Linked DNA regions of Homo sapiens: region 2 is linked to region 1. Evidence: promoter capture Hi-C in 16 types of primary human blood cells and fetal thymus (Javierre and others, 2016). All regions are on one chromosome and are shown on one strand. Each heading gives the region's core, a stretch centred on a gene start or on the middle of the fragment in contact. The rest is flanking DNA. Distances are from core to core; before and after follow the strand shown. Region 1 holds the start of GPR68 (G protein-coupled receptor 68). Region 2 overlaps RPS6KA5 (ribosomal protein S6 kinase A5).

Evidence for each region. The method cuts DNA at HindIII sites, captures the fragments that hold promoters and counts their contacts. A CHiCAGO score of 5 or more calls a contact.
Region 2: a fragment that was not itself captured here is called in contact with the fragment with the promoter of GPR68 in region 1 in 3 of 17 cell types (naive CD4 T cells, activated CD4 T cells and naive B cells); the score reaches 6.6 in naive CD4 T cells.

What each region holds. Positions count from the first base shown.
Region 1 is chr14:91,239,542-91,246,073 of GRCh38, reverse strand. It overlaps GPR68 (G protein-coupled receptor 68), which reads left to right and starts at 1,370. Exons shown (of 2, transcript NM_001177676.2): 1 at 1,370-1,777. RefSeq lists enhancers at 1,603-1,652, 1,172-1,673, 2,733-2,842. The HindIII fragment of the contact is 37,333 bases long and covers 1-6,532 here.
Region 2 is chr14:90,892,751-90,899,412 of GRCh38, reverse strand. RPS6KA5 (ribosomal protein S6 kinase A5) reads left to right here. Exons shown (of 17, transcript NM_004755.4): 12 at 1-84; 13 at 4,830-5,000. Among named protein-coding and RNA genes, the nearest start is that of LINC02321, 68 kb to the right of the region's middle. The HindIII fragment of the contact is 3,657 bases long and covers 1,283-4,939 here.

The sequences.
Region 1 (6,532 bases), core at 121-2,620:
GCTTTTGTCGCCCAGTCTGGAGTGCAATGGCATGATCTCAGCTCACCGCAACCTCTGCCTCCCAGGTTCAAGTGATTCTCCTGCCTCAGCTTCCCGAGTAGCTAGGATTACAGGCATGCGCCACCACCCCCAGCAAATTTTTGTATTTTTAATAGAGATGGGGTTTCACCATGTTGACCAGGCCGGTCTCCAACTCCTGACCTCAGGTGATCCACCCGCCTCGGCTTCCCAAAGTGCTAGGATTCCAGGCGTGAGCCACCGCACCTGGCCGGAAATAGTTTTTAAAAGGCCTGCTATGTGGTAGCATTTGCTTGGAGGGCCCAGGCCCCACTGAAGGGGATTTCCTTAGACCCCCTACCAACAGAGTGAGGGCAGTGGAGCCAAGGCTCTTGGCATGAATAAGATGGGCATCAGTGTTTTAAACTGTGTTGGTCCCCAGAGCAGGGACCAAGCACAGGGCTCTGGCCACTTCCAGCAGGAAGGACTCGCACCCCCAGTGGCCCCATGCACCGTATCTGTTGGCTTCCTGGCTCTGGCAACGTAGCTTATAATCAGCTTCCAAGGAGTCTGCCTTGGAGGGAGGTGGTTACGCCAAAATGCTGGGCCTTTCCATCCTCCGTGTTATGTGTGTGAGGGAGGGAGTTTAGTAAGTGCTCCTGAGAGCCAGAAGGGCCCCCGGGGCCAGAGCCCTGGGCTTGATTCCTTCTCTGGGGACCGACACAGTTGAAAACATTGATGCCCGCCCTATCCTTACTGATGCCCAGAGCCTTAGCTCCACTGCCTTCGCTCTGCTGCTCTGCCAAACAGGATCCTACCTGCTTCACCACATCCGTGGCTGCCCACCTTCACTGCACTTTAGAACAGTCCAGGGAGCTTTAGAGCCACTGATGCTGGCACGTCACTTCCAGGAAACATGATTTAACCAGCCCCGGGTGGGGCCCGGGCATTGGTATTTTTTTTGTAGGCTCCCAGGTATGTTCTCATGCACATGGCCAGGGTTGAGCCCCAGTGACCCAGATGTTGGCGGCTTCCCCCACCCTTGCCTGGATCCCGGTATCCTGTAGGTGCTGAAAGGTGGCTAGAATTAGCCCACCCCCTCCTCCTGTATCCCCCCACCACAGTCCTGAGGGCACCTGCCCCTAGCTCAGGCTTTCACATTCCCAGCGAGGCTGCTCACTGACTCTGGGTTGCATGGAGAGCAGAGGAAGATGCGTGGAGAGAGCCATTCCGCCGCCCTCAGCCTCTGGCTGGCGAGTGGTTCCTCGGCAACCGCCCAGCCTGACACCAGATTGGAGTTCACATGATTCTGCCTCAGCTCGGGAATGGGCAGCCTCCAGCTGGGGATTTTCTAGCCGGAGCTGGGAGGTTCAGGCTGCGGGAAGTCGCTGGAGGGAGAGCTGGGATCGTGGCTGCAAGGGTGCCCAGGCTCCTGCAGAGCCTCTGCAGGAAGCCCAGCTGTTTGAGGTTTGAAGGCAGAGCCTAGCTGGGGCAGGCAGAGTCAGAGAGGACTCGTTTCAGAGTCCCCCCTCAGAGGACTCCCTCCATCCTGATTTCAGCAGCTGCCTGCTCCTCACCTGGTTGCAGAGACCACACTGCCTTCCTGGGGCCCTGAGGCTCTAGGAGAAGCTGGAAAGCACAGGTGGGGGTCCATCCAGCTGTTTCCAAACTGCGGGTTGTGACCCATTCATGGGTCAGTAAATCAACTTCATAGCTCATGACCTGCATTTAAAAAATTGAAATAGAATAGAAATGATCAGAGTGCGTGGCAAGAAGTAGGGTAAGTATTGCTTTGGGGAAGTTTGTTGCTTTGTACAGATGTGTGTGTGTGTGTGTGTGTGTGTGTGTGTGTGTGTGTCTGTGTTCTGGGTCGCGATGTCAGGTGTATTTCTTGCTATTGCTTGTGATCCAAAAAGCTCAAAGGCAGCAAGTTGGTGCCTAGACACGTGGGTTCTGGATTCAGATCCACCCCAACTGACTGTGTGAGTTTGAGCCTCCCTGCATTAGCCTCTCTGGGCTTCAGGTTCTGAGAAATGGCTTAGCAATGCCAGCCCACCTGACTCACAGGGACTTCGTGGGCCCAGATGGGACTGACCTTTGAAACAGTGACAAGGGTTCTAGAAGTGAGATGCTATGGTCCACGTTGTTGCTGGAGTGAGGCGATCTGGGGGGAAAATGGGGACTAAGGAAAAATGCATCCTGATGTTTCCCCTCTCCTCAGAGGGAAAAATAAAGCACTTTCAGAAAATGAAACAGCCTTGCTTAAAGCATGCAGAGGTTTGGCCAACTGAAGGAAAAGGAAGCTGGGCCCTGGGGAAACTCCCCAGCTCTTGTGGGTTTGGGGTTCCGTGAGCAGCCCTGGCACCATGAGTAACTGTCTGTGTGCGTGCCGGTGTGTGCTGCACGAAAGGGGGGGCGAGTTAGATCACTATTTATGTGCCAGCTGGAATCCAGCATTTAGGCACCTCCGCCTTCTGACTTGGGACATGCAAGAGACTCCTAGCTTAGTCAGAGAGGCCTTTCCTTCCTGTTGGGAGCTTAATTTCTCTTGGTCATTAAAGTCCTCAGAGACCTCTATGCTGATTTGCATTTGCTAAAGATTTGCTTTCAGGCGTTGAGTCACTCTATAGTTTTTCTCAATTTTTTAGCTGGGTAATAAAGTGTTATTTTGATTCTTTTCTCCAATGCCTTCCCAAACTACGGACTGGCCACGTGGCTGGTTTTCCTCAGTGGGCGTTGAAAACATGGTTGACCTGCTAAAGCATAGTCCAGGTGAAGGGGCCAGGCCAGGACCAAGCCTGGTGGCCATTGCTGCAGCATCTGTGAGGACTGGAGCTTGGCTGAGCTGGGGGCTTGAGGGTGGTGGTTCTGGGATGATCATGATAGTCAGCACAGCATGAAGGAAAGTATGGACCAGTCCGAGTTCCAGACCTGGCCTGCCGCATCTCAACTGCAGAGACTTCAGCAGGTTGGTTCATCTCTCTGAGCCTCAGTTTCTTTATCTGTAAAGTGGGAGCTGATGAGAGTGGTGTTGAAAGAGAGAACAGACATTCAGAAACTTGCCTGGCAAGTGCAGGGCCCTCGACAGATGTGGCTTAGTTCTTCTCTACATCTACGTTTTTCCATTTATGGAATATTTTCGCATCCACTGTGTTCTTTGATTTTTGAGGAGGAAGGTTCCTGTGGAGATGAGGTAGAGGGCAAGTCAGAGTTTCCATCTGGGGGTGCCTGTCCTCAGGGAACAGTAGAAGGGAAGGCACTGGTGAAAAATCAGGACCCTCAGACCAGCTCAGGCAGGCTGAGCAGAGAGGGGACCACGGTGATTCCTCCTCCTCACTTTCCTGTTTCTATTAATGATATCCTCACTGTCCCAGCACCCAGCCTCAACCCCCCACCACTTACCTATCCACTCACTCACCTACTCACCTACTCACCTATCCACCCACCCATAATCCATCTGCCACCCATTCCCTCATCCATCTATCCATCTTCCCCTCACCTGTGCATCCATTTACACATTCACCCATCCACTTAGCCACCCACCCACCCACCCACCCACCCTTCCATCAGCTCACCTATCCACCCACCCATACGTCCGTCTGTCCACCCATTCACTCATCCCTCTATCCCTCTACCCCTCACCCATGCATCCATTTACACATTCACCCATCCACTTATCCATCCACCCACCCATCTATCCACTCACCTCTCCAGCTGCCCATATATCCATCTATCCAGCCATCCAGTCATCCATCTATCTGGCTACCCCTATCCCTCCATTTACTCATTCACCCTCCCACCTCTCCACCATCCATCCAACAAATAATTCTGGGGAGGCTATAAGGACCAGGCACCAAGAAAAATCTCCAATTTGCCCCTGGTTGTTCCCCACCTCCCTTGTAATTACTTGCCAGTTCTACAGCTTCACACTGTTTCCTCTCTCGCCCTGCCTACCTCTTATTTAGATCCAGTCACACCAACCTACTTTCAGTTCCGCAGAGCTGCCCCTTCTCTTCCTCTTGCATTTCGTCTGTTTCCACACATTTTCCACAGGTAGAAACTCTCCTCTGCTTCGGCAGCACTTCCTCTTTCTTCTGATCTTACTGTAACTGCCGATGCTCAGGAAGGCCTTTCCTGACAGGGTGAGGCCCCCACCCGTGAATCCTCACAAAACCCTGCGCTCTCTTTGTGAGCTTGTTTCACTTATCTTCTCTCCTCCGCCTTAGGACTAAAAACCACTTGTTACTAGGGGCCAGTGTCTAGTGTTGTGCCTTCCATATAATAGACACTCGGTGAGTATTTGCTGTATGAATGAATACTTGGGTGGACGGATGGATGAATGGATGATGGATGTTTGAATGGATGGATGAACAGATGGATGGATGGGTGGATGATTGGAGAACCATGGAAGCATTTGCAGCAGGGTGTGACTGGGTTAGATTTCTGTTTAGAGGATGGCTTTGAGGATAGTAAGATGGAGACAGGAAGCAGCCCAGGAGGAGGCTGTTGCACTGACTCTGGGAAGGAGCTCTTGACCAAGCCCATCTAGGGTGCTGGCAAGAGAGCTGAAGAGGAGGAGATGGATGTAGGAAATACTTAGAGTTGAAAATGGTAGAACTTGGAAATTAACTGGACGCTGTGGATGAAGATGTGGGTGAAAGCTGAAGGCCAGCCATTGACATGAATGATTGGGCAGGTGAGGAGGCCCCTTCCAAGAACAGGGCAGTGGAGAAAATGATGGACCCAGCGTGGGCCTCACTGAGCGTGTCCTGTGAGTGGCAGGAAGCTGGTTATGCCTTCATCCTGGGAAAGACCTGGGAGTCATCAGAGTGTAGATGGGGTTGAAACCACGGAGAAGCAGCCATCCCACAGGGAGTGCACAGGGAATAAAAAGGGCAAACCAGTGTTTAATGTGTGTGGCAGAGAGGCCCACTGCACCCACCATACACTGCCTTGCATGATAGTGATTTGTGCATGGGACATTCCTGTCTTTCGAGCTTGGAGGTTCCTTGAGACTGGCAGCCATTTCTTGCATTTTGTTTGTTTTGAGATGGGGGGTCTCACTCTGTCACCCAGGCTGGAGTACAGTGGCACGAACATGGCTCACTGCGGCCTTGACCTCCTGGGCTCAAGCGATCCTCCCACTTCAGCCTTCTGATTAGCTGGGACTATAGGTGTGCACCACCATGCTTTGCTAATTTTTAAATTTTATGTAGAGACAGAGTCTTGCTGTGTTGCCCAGGCTGGTCTTGAATGTTGCGGGAAGTCAGGGACCCTGAATGGAGGGACCGGCTGAAGCCATGGCAGAAGAACATAAATTGTGAAGATTTCATGGACATTTATTAGTTCCCCAAATTAATACTTTTATAATTTCTTATGCCTGTCTTTACTGCAATCTCTGAACATAAATTGTGAAGATAATCATGGACATTTATCACTTCCCTCATCAATACTCTTATGATTTCCAATGCCTGTCTTTAATCTCTTAATCCCATCATCTTCGTAAGCTGAGGATGTATGTTGCCTCCGGACCCTGTGATAATTGCGTTAACTGCACAAATTGTTCGTAAAGCATGTGTGTTTAAACAATATGAAATCTGGGCACCTTGAAAGAAGAACAGGATAAAGCGATGTTCAGGGAACAAGGGAGGTAACCATTAGGTCTGGCTGCCTGAGAGCTGGGTGGAACAGAGCCATATTTCTCTTCTTTCAAAAGTGTATAGGAGAAATATCGCTGAATTCTTTTTCTCAGCAAGGAACAGCCCTGAGAAAGAGAATGCATTCCCAGGGGTAGGTGTCTAAAATGGCTGCTCTGGGAATGTCTGTCTTATACAGTTGCAGATAAGAGATGAAATAAGCCCCAGTCTCCCATAGCGCTCCCAGGCTGATTAGGATGAGGAAATTCCCGCCTAATAAATTTTGATCAGACTGGTTGTCTGCTCTCAAACTCTGTCTCCTGATAAGATGTTATCAATGACAATATGTGCCCAGTGGGACATGAAACTTCATTAGCATTTTTAATTTCGCCTCGGTCCTGTGATTTTGCCCTGCCTCCATTTGCCTTGTGATATTTTATTACCTTGTAAAGCATGTGATCTCTGTGACCCACACCCTATTCATACACTCCCTCCCCTTTGAAAATCACTAATAAAAACTTGCTGGTTTTGTGGCTTGAGGGGCATCATGGAACCTGCCGACATGTGATGTCTCCCCTGGACACCCAGCTTTAAAATTTCTCTCTTTTGTACTCTTTCCCTTTATTTCTCAGACTGGCCAACACTTAGGGAAATAGAAAAGAACCTATGTGAAATTACGTTAAATTATCGGGGGTGATTCCCCTGATACTTGAACCCCTGGGCTCAAGCGATCCTCTCGCCTCAGCTAGTGCTGAGATTACAGGCGTGAGCCATCACACCCGGCCCATTTCTTGTTGACCTCTAGGTCCTCCATGTCTAGCTTGGTGCTGTGAACATCCGAGATGCTCTACACACACTTGTGCAGTGAAAGCCAGGGTACTGGATAGTTCAAGCTGCTT
Region 2 (6,662 bases), core at 1,862-4,361, 350 kb after region 1:
AATACTCAAAAGGAAATAACAGCTCTGAAACTCTGTGAAGGACACCCCAATATTGTGAAGTTGCATGAAGTTTTTCATGATCAGGTATCCTACTTTTTTTTTTTTTTTTTCCCATGTGTACTAATTCACTTACAGGGTTGTACTTTTCACGCGTTTTGTTGGTGCTGCTGGGTCAGAGTCAGGGATATAGAACATCACCCAGCCACCAGAAAGGGCAGTGAAACCACCCTCTCAAACCCCTCCCCAACCACACACTGTTTCCCAACCCCAAATCAGGTTATCCCTTCACCTCTCATGCTTTTCTCACTCAGCAGTTAACCACCTATGACAGGAAGACGGAGGGCCAGGAGCTCAGTGGTGCAGTCACTGGCTACAATGTGCTTGTTGCCAGTGCCGCTTCTACCCACCATCACTTAATCCTGGAGTACCTCTCAGGACTCAGGAATTTTGAGCCTCCAACTTCCCTTTCACTTCTAGAGTAAAACTGAGAGAGCCTGGAGCCTAATTAATGCAAGCTAAAGGACAAATAGGAAGCAGAAAGCAAAGATACTCCTTTTATCTTCTAGCTCCAGGTGGTAAATTCTGCTCAGAACCCTGGCCAGATCATGCTGCCCCCTCTTCTGCTCTCAGTCCTGCTTTGCAGCAGGAACTATGGGAGGATGCCAGTGTGTCCAGTTCGTGTCTGTTCACCTCACACATGACAGAAATTGCTCCATTACACTTCTCTGCCCCTGAGACCAGGTGGGGTGATGCAGTCCTACTTAAGACAACTTGGAGGCACAAGAGCACAAACCAATCCTGAATGTGCTTTGCCCTAATTTTACCAATAAAGAAACTGAGATTTTGAATGTTCATAAAACTTGTCTAAGGTCACATAGCATGTCAATGCGAATCTAATAAGGAGAACCTGTACTCCAGTTCTGGGCTCTCTTTGTTGTGCTGTTGTAATATCTGTGACCTAGGATCGATGGGGCCCAGTTCTCTACCACATTGAAATATCCTCGAGTGCTATTGCCAGGAATGATACATCATGGTGAGACCAGGCAGCAGCAGCAGTAGCACCATAACCATAATAGCTGCTGCCATTTATTATCACATATCTTGTGTGGTCTAGGTTCTGTACCAGGCACTCTGCATGTATTGTCTTATTCAGTCCTTACCATAGGTCCATGAGGTGAGAAAATGGACACTCATAGAAGTTAAGTAACAGGTCTTACAGTTGGTAAGTGTGGTAAGGCTGGGATCTGAATCCACACAGTCCAACTTCAGAGCCCAACAAGCTTTTATTTACTTTAAACTACTGCCTTAGGGAAGGCAGAATCACATCTGGCAGTAAGCATCCCAAAATGGCATCATCCTCTACTCACTCTTTGGTTCTTGTAGTCAGAAAAGAAATGCCACTGAAGCAAGGACTCAGGGGGAACCGCTCTCCCTGATCCTCTACCTCCTCTTGCCTCATCAAGCCACTCGACACAAGAGGAGGTAATGAGTCCCCTGGCCACGAAGGTGCTTAAGAAGAGGCTCACTAGACAGTCTCCTGTTGAAGATGATATAGAGGAAATTCACATCATTCAAGGAATCAACGGGTGATCTTAGATGCTCTCCTCTGGGTTTGCAGCTGTGCCCATAACTACATCCCAGACAAGATACTTGATCTCTGACCTTCAGACTAATGTCAGGTCCCATGAACAACATTTCTAATTTTTTATTTGTGTCACAAATTAAGTAGATGTTTTGCTATTTATATATTCAGGAGTTACTAAAATATAAATTGTCACATGATATAATCCTATACAAACTAGTATAAATACATTATCAATCTAATATGCAGTTGTAATGTATCTTGGGTTTTCTCATAATGGTGGCACAGTTGCCTAGATCATCCCTGTATCCAGTCTTTTCTTCAACTAATGGGTGAAATTGGTTATGGTGGGTCTTCAGCCTTTGTGCAATAGCATAGTTCATTTTGTGTGCCATGATATGCGTTTCACGTACTCCATGAGTTTGCTATTGCTGCTGCAACAAATCACCACAAACTTAAAACAATACAAATTTATTATCCTGCAGTCTGGAGGTCAGAAGTCCAAAATCAGGCCCATTGGCTTAAAGTCAAGCTGTCACCAGAGCTGGTTCCCTCTTGAGCAGAACCAGGTGCACAGCGGGAGGTGAGTGGCAGGTGAGCCAGCATTACTGCCTGAACTCCACCTCTTGGCAGATCAGCGACAGCCTTAGATTCTCACTGGAGTACAAACTCTATTGTGAACTGCGCATGGCGAGGGATCAAAGTTGCAGCACTCCTTATAAGAATCTAATGCCTGTCCCACCCCACTACTGCCTCCCCTCGTCCATGGAAAAATTGCCTTCCGTGAAACCATTTCCTGGTGCCAAAAAAGTTGCGGACCTGGCTCATGCCTGTAATTCCAGCACTTTGGGAAGGTGAGGCAGGTGGATCACTTGAGGTCAGGAGTTTGAGACCAGTCTGGCCAACATGGTGAGACCCTATCTCTACCAAAAAATACAAAAAATTAGTCAGGCGTGGTGTTGTGCGCCTGTAGTCCTAGCTACTCTGGAGGCTGAGGTGGGATAATCCGTTGAACTTGGGAGGCGGAGGTTGCAGTGAGCCAAGACTGCACCACTGCACTCCAGCCTGGGTGATAGAGTGAGACCCTGTCTCAAAAAAATAAGAAAACAAAAAAGAAAAAAAATGTTGAGGATCACTGCTCTGGAGGCTCTAAGGGACAACCCATTTACTTTCCTTTTGTAGCTTCTAGACACCCCCCAACATTTCCTTGGCTGTGAGCCTTCCATGCATCACTCTAAGATCTTGCCTCCAGGGTCTCATCTCATACTGCTAACTCTGATGAATAATTCAGGATAATCTCACATCTCAAGCTCCTTAATTTACTAATCACATCTCAAAAGGCCCTTTTGCCATCCTTCTAAGGTAACAACCACAGGTTCTGGGCATTAGGACATGAACAACTTTGGAGGGCCATCATTCAAGCTCTACCACGCATACATTTTCTCATTGCTATCTGCATTTTATTGATAAGGATCCTAGAATTAATAAGATAAAGTAGCATCCCAAGATCATGAATAAATAACAGAACTGACCTTCAAATCCAGGTTGAACTCTAAATCTGTTCGTACACCACTGCAAGTATTGCCTTACATCTTTTTTAAAGCTCACCAGCCTACAGTTGTAGCAGACCTGCAAGCTCAACTTTATCTGATGTAGAAACTCAAGTTAGCTTGATGTCTAGTAGGCTGGGAGCAATTTTCTTGTTAGAAGGGTTGTTCACTCTGCAATTTGTCTAATGCTTTCAGGATAATGTACTTATAATTGTCTTTTTTATGAAGCAGTTTATTCTGAGTTTTGCTAATACAGAAAGAAACATTTTGTTTGTGAAGTGATGTTGGCCTTATAATGCATAGCACCTGAATTCAGTATATTGCCATGATATCTTTTTCTAAACCATTTGTGTTCATTTGAGAGCTGATTAAGTCCTTTGCTTTTTTTCTTTTTTGAGACAGGGTCTCTGTCACCCAGGCTGGAGTGCAGTGGCACAGTGACGGCTCCCTGCAGCCTTGACCTCCCGAGCTCAAGTGATTCTCCCACCTCAGCCTCCTGAGTAGCTGGGACTGTAGGCGTGCGCCACCATGTCTGGCTAATTTTTGTTATTATTTTTTGTAGAGATGAGGTCTCACTATGTTGCCTAGGCTGGTCTTGAGCTTCTGGGCTCAAGCAGTCCTCTCACCCTGGCCTCTAAATGTGCTGGGATCTATAGCCCTTTGCTTTTTGATAATTCCTGTATTATTTTTTGGAAATTATCCATTCTGACAGAAAAGAGCCTGGGTGGAGAAGAAGAGAAAGGATGGTAAACATATAACTTACAAAGTAACTATTAAGATAATATTGTTGGGATTAAAGCAAAAACCCATAGTGAGTTATGGGTATTTGTAATGAATATTAACAGGAACCCTGAAACTAATCTGTTGAGTCCTAACAGGAGGTTCAAAATGACAATATCAAACAATACCTTTTTAAACTTTTATGTTTTAATTTTTTTTGTACAGACAGTCTCACTGTGTTGACCAAGCTGGTCTTGAACTCCTGACCTCAAGCAGTCCTCCCACCTCAGCCTCCCAAAGTGCTGGGATTACAGGTGTGAGCCACTGAGCCCAGCCTCATTACCCTTTTAAAAAGATTAATTTGCCATTGGATGGGTGTGCCAGGCCTTGGATGGGTGTGCCAGGCCTCACATGGGCACACCCATCCTACTCAGTTGCCCATTCTACTCAGTCAGTATTCAGATTCTGTATTATTTAAAGCAAGTGACTTCACATTATTGTCACATTATTGTCAGCAGTTTAAAAAGAAAGATGTGTAAACTTGATAGAGAGGGTTGGAGTGGAATTCAAATGAAAGAATTAGCTGGATGCAATTGCACACCTATAGCCCCAGCTCATCGGGAGGCCTGAGATGAGAGAATCCCTTGAGCCCAGGAATTCAAGGGCAGATTTCTTTTTAGAGACTTCATCTCTTAAAACAAAACACTGCAAATGAAAGAATTCATCACAGAAGGGAAAAAGGATATACAGTATAAAGATTTCACTGCAGTACTTGAAATTTTCCATTACCAAAATAGAATTATAAAACAGCTACATTATCTTTCAGCCCTTTTCTCTAAGATATGAGGATTGCCATTGATTATTTTAACAGGGGATTATTTAAACGTATTGGTGGTAGATAGTCAATAAATGTTTTATATGTTAATAGACTTCTGTGCTTCAGGAAGGCCCTCCACGTTATTCTTTCTCTTTTCTAGCTTCACACGTTTCTAGTGATGGAACTTCTGAATGGAGGAGAACTGTTTGAGCGCATTAAGAAAAAGAAGCACTTCAGTGAGACGGAAGCCAGCTACATCATGAGGAAGCTTGTTTCAGCTGTAAGCCACATGCATGATGTTGGAGTGGTGCACAGGGATCTGAAACCTGAGGTATAAAATCACTGGATCTCTTACGTAATTCAGTCTAGCACCATTATTAAAGATCTCCCAAACATGGGGGAAGTTTCTGGGGAGGTTTCCTTATTTTTTTACTTTTCAAGGCTGTTAAATAGATAATTGAAAATACGTTTCTTTGATGTTTTTTCTTTTATATTTCAGTCTAAAATAAATTTGTCTTTGTTTATTTTTTGCCAGCTGATCATCTTGAGGTTATATTTGTAAGTGTGAGAACCTTTTATGGAAAAAATACTTTATGCAACAGTTGTGGACTAAAAATAGCAATGGAAATTTTTATAGCAGAAAATAATATCTCTTACATATAATTTTAGAGGGTTTTTTTTCCAAATGATGTATTTTGAAAACTTATTTTTTACATTTGTAATCAAATTGGTTAGCTCATGAATAAAAATGTATATAATTCTATTCTAAATACTTAAAGAGTTGTCTTGGTTTAATTAGTTATGCCGTCTTTCTATGTGCTTTTCTATGATCGTGCTATAATATTTATAGAACTATATGTAGCAATGCAAAAGTAACAGCTATTTATATGTCTCCTCTTATGAAAGGCTAATAAAGAATGTTCTAACTCTTAGAATGATCCCTTTTTAGTATCAAAAATATGAAAATTCCCTCCTTTTAGAAAATCAACAAAATAATGAAAATTGAAAAACGAAAATCAATACTGTATAAAAAGATAATGATGACTCATCCTTTACCATATACAAGATTATACATATTCTCTCCAAAATAGAACTTTGTTTAATTATCATGTGATTATAATATGTTCTCGAGTATATATAAAATATTATTTGATGTTCCTTTTGTGATTAAGCCACAAAAGATTATTTCTCTAAAAGCACTATTTTTGCCTTTTACTTAGGTATCTTGAATTATTAGAAGAGGATGTTTTAAAAATGGAATTCTTTTCTTCTCTACTTCACATGGAAAAGAAAATTTTTAAAATGAAATTCTGTGCATTAAAATATATTTGGTTTATTCCTTTCATGTATTTAGACTTCTATGTATTTTCTATTACCATTATTCACAGTACTAGTAATTAATCAAAAGTAAATTCTGTTTTATTAACTTGCAACTATGATAGTTCCCCTCTGCTTCCTTCATCATAGTTCTCACTCTCCTACATAACACCCACTGAAAGTATGGTGCTCTGTACATTGGAGATTAGCTGTCTATTTTTAAATGTGAAAGCACACCACTTAAATGTTTTCTTGATAGACAAGGAACAAGCATGTAGTTTTTTTTAATTGAAAAGATCTGTTCCATGACTGTATAGAATTCATTTTCACATGTTTTATTCTTTGATAACTGGCCATCTGTCACCTCATGAGTCTCAAATGAGGCAACTGTCCTCTCTTGCAGAATTTAGATTTGCATTCCTCCTTTCCTGATAAAAAGATAACTTATGTAGCTTAATTCTTCTTATTTGTTATAAGGCTTTTCTTTCAAATACTCACTTGAAATGGGGCAGAACTATCAGATTATTTAGGACATTCTACTGCAATTATAGTCCTAAATCAAACTAGATTTTGGAGAAATGAAAATAGACCTTTGAACTAACATTTTCATAATAAAATGTCTTTCACTTTGACTTTTAAATGGCAGTGTATATTATTTCTAAACTAAAAGTTTAAT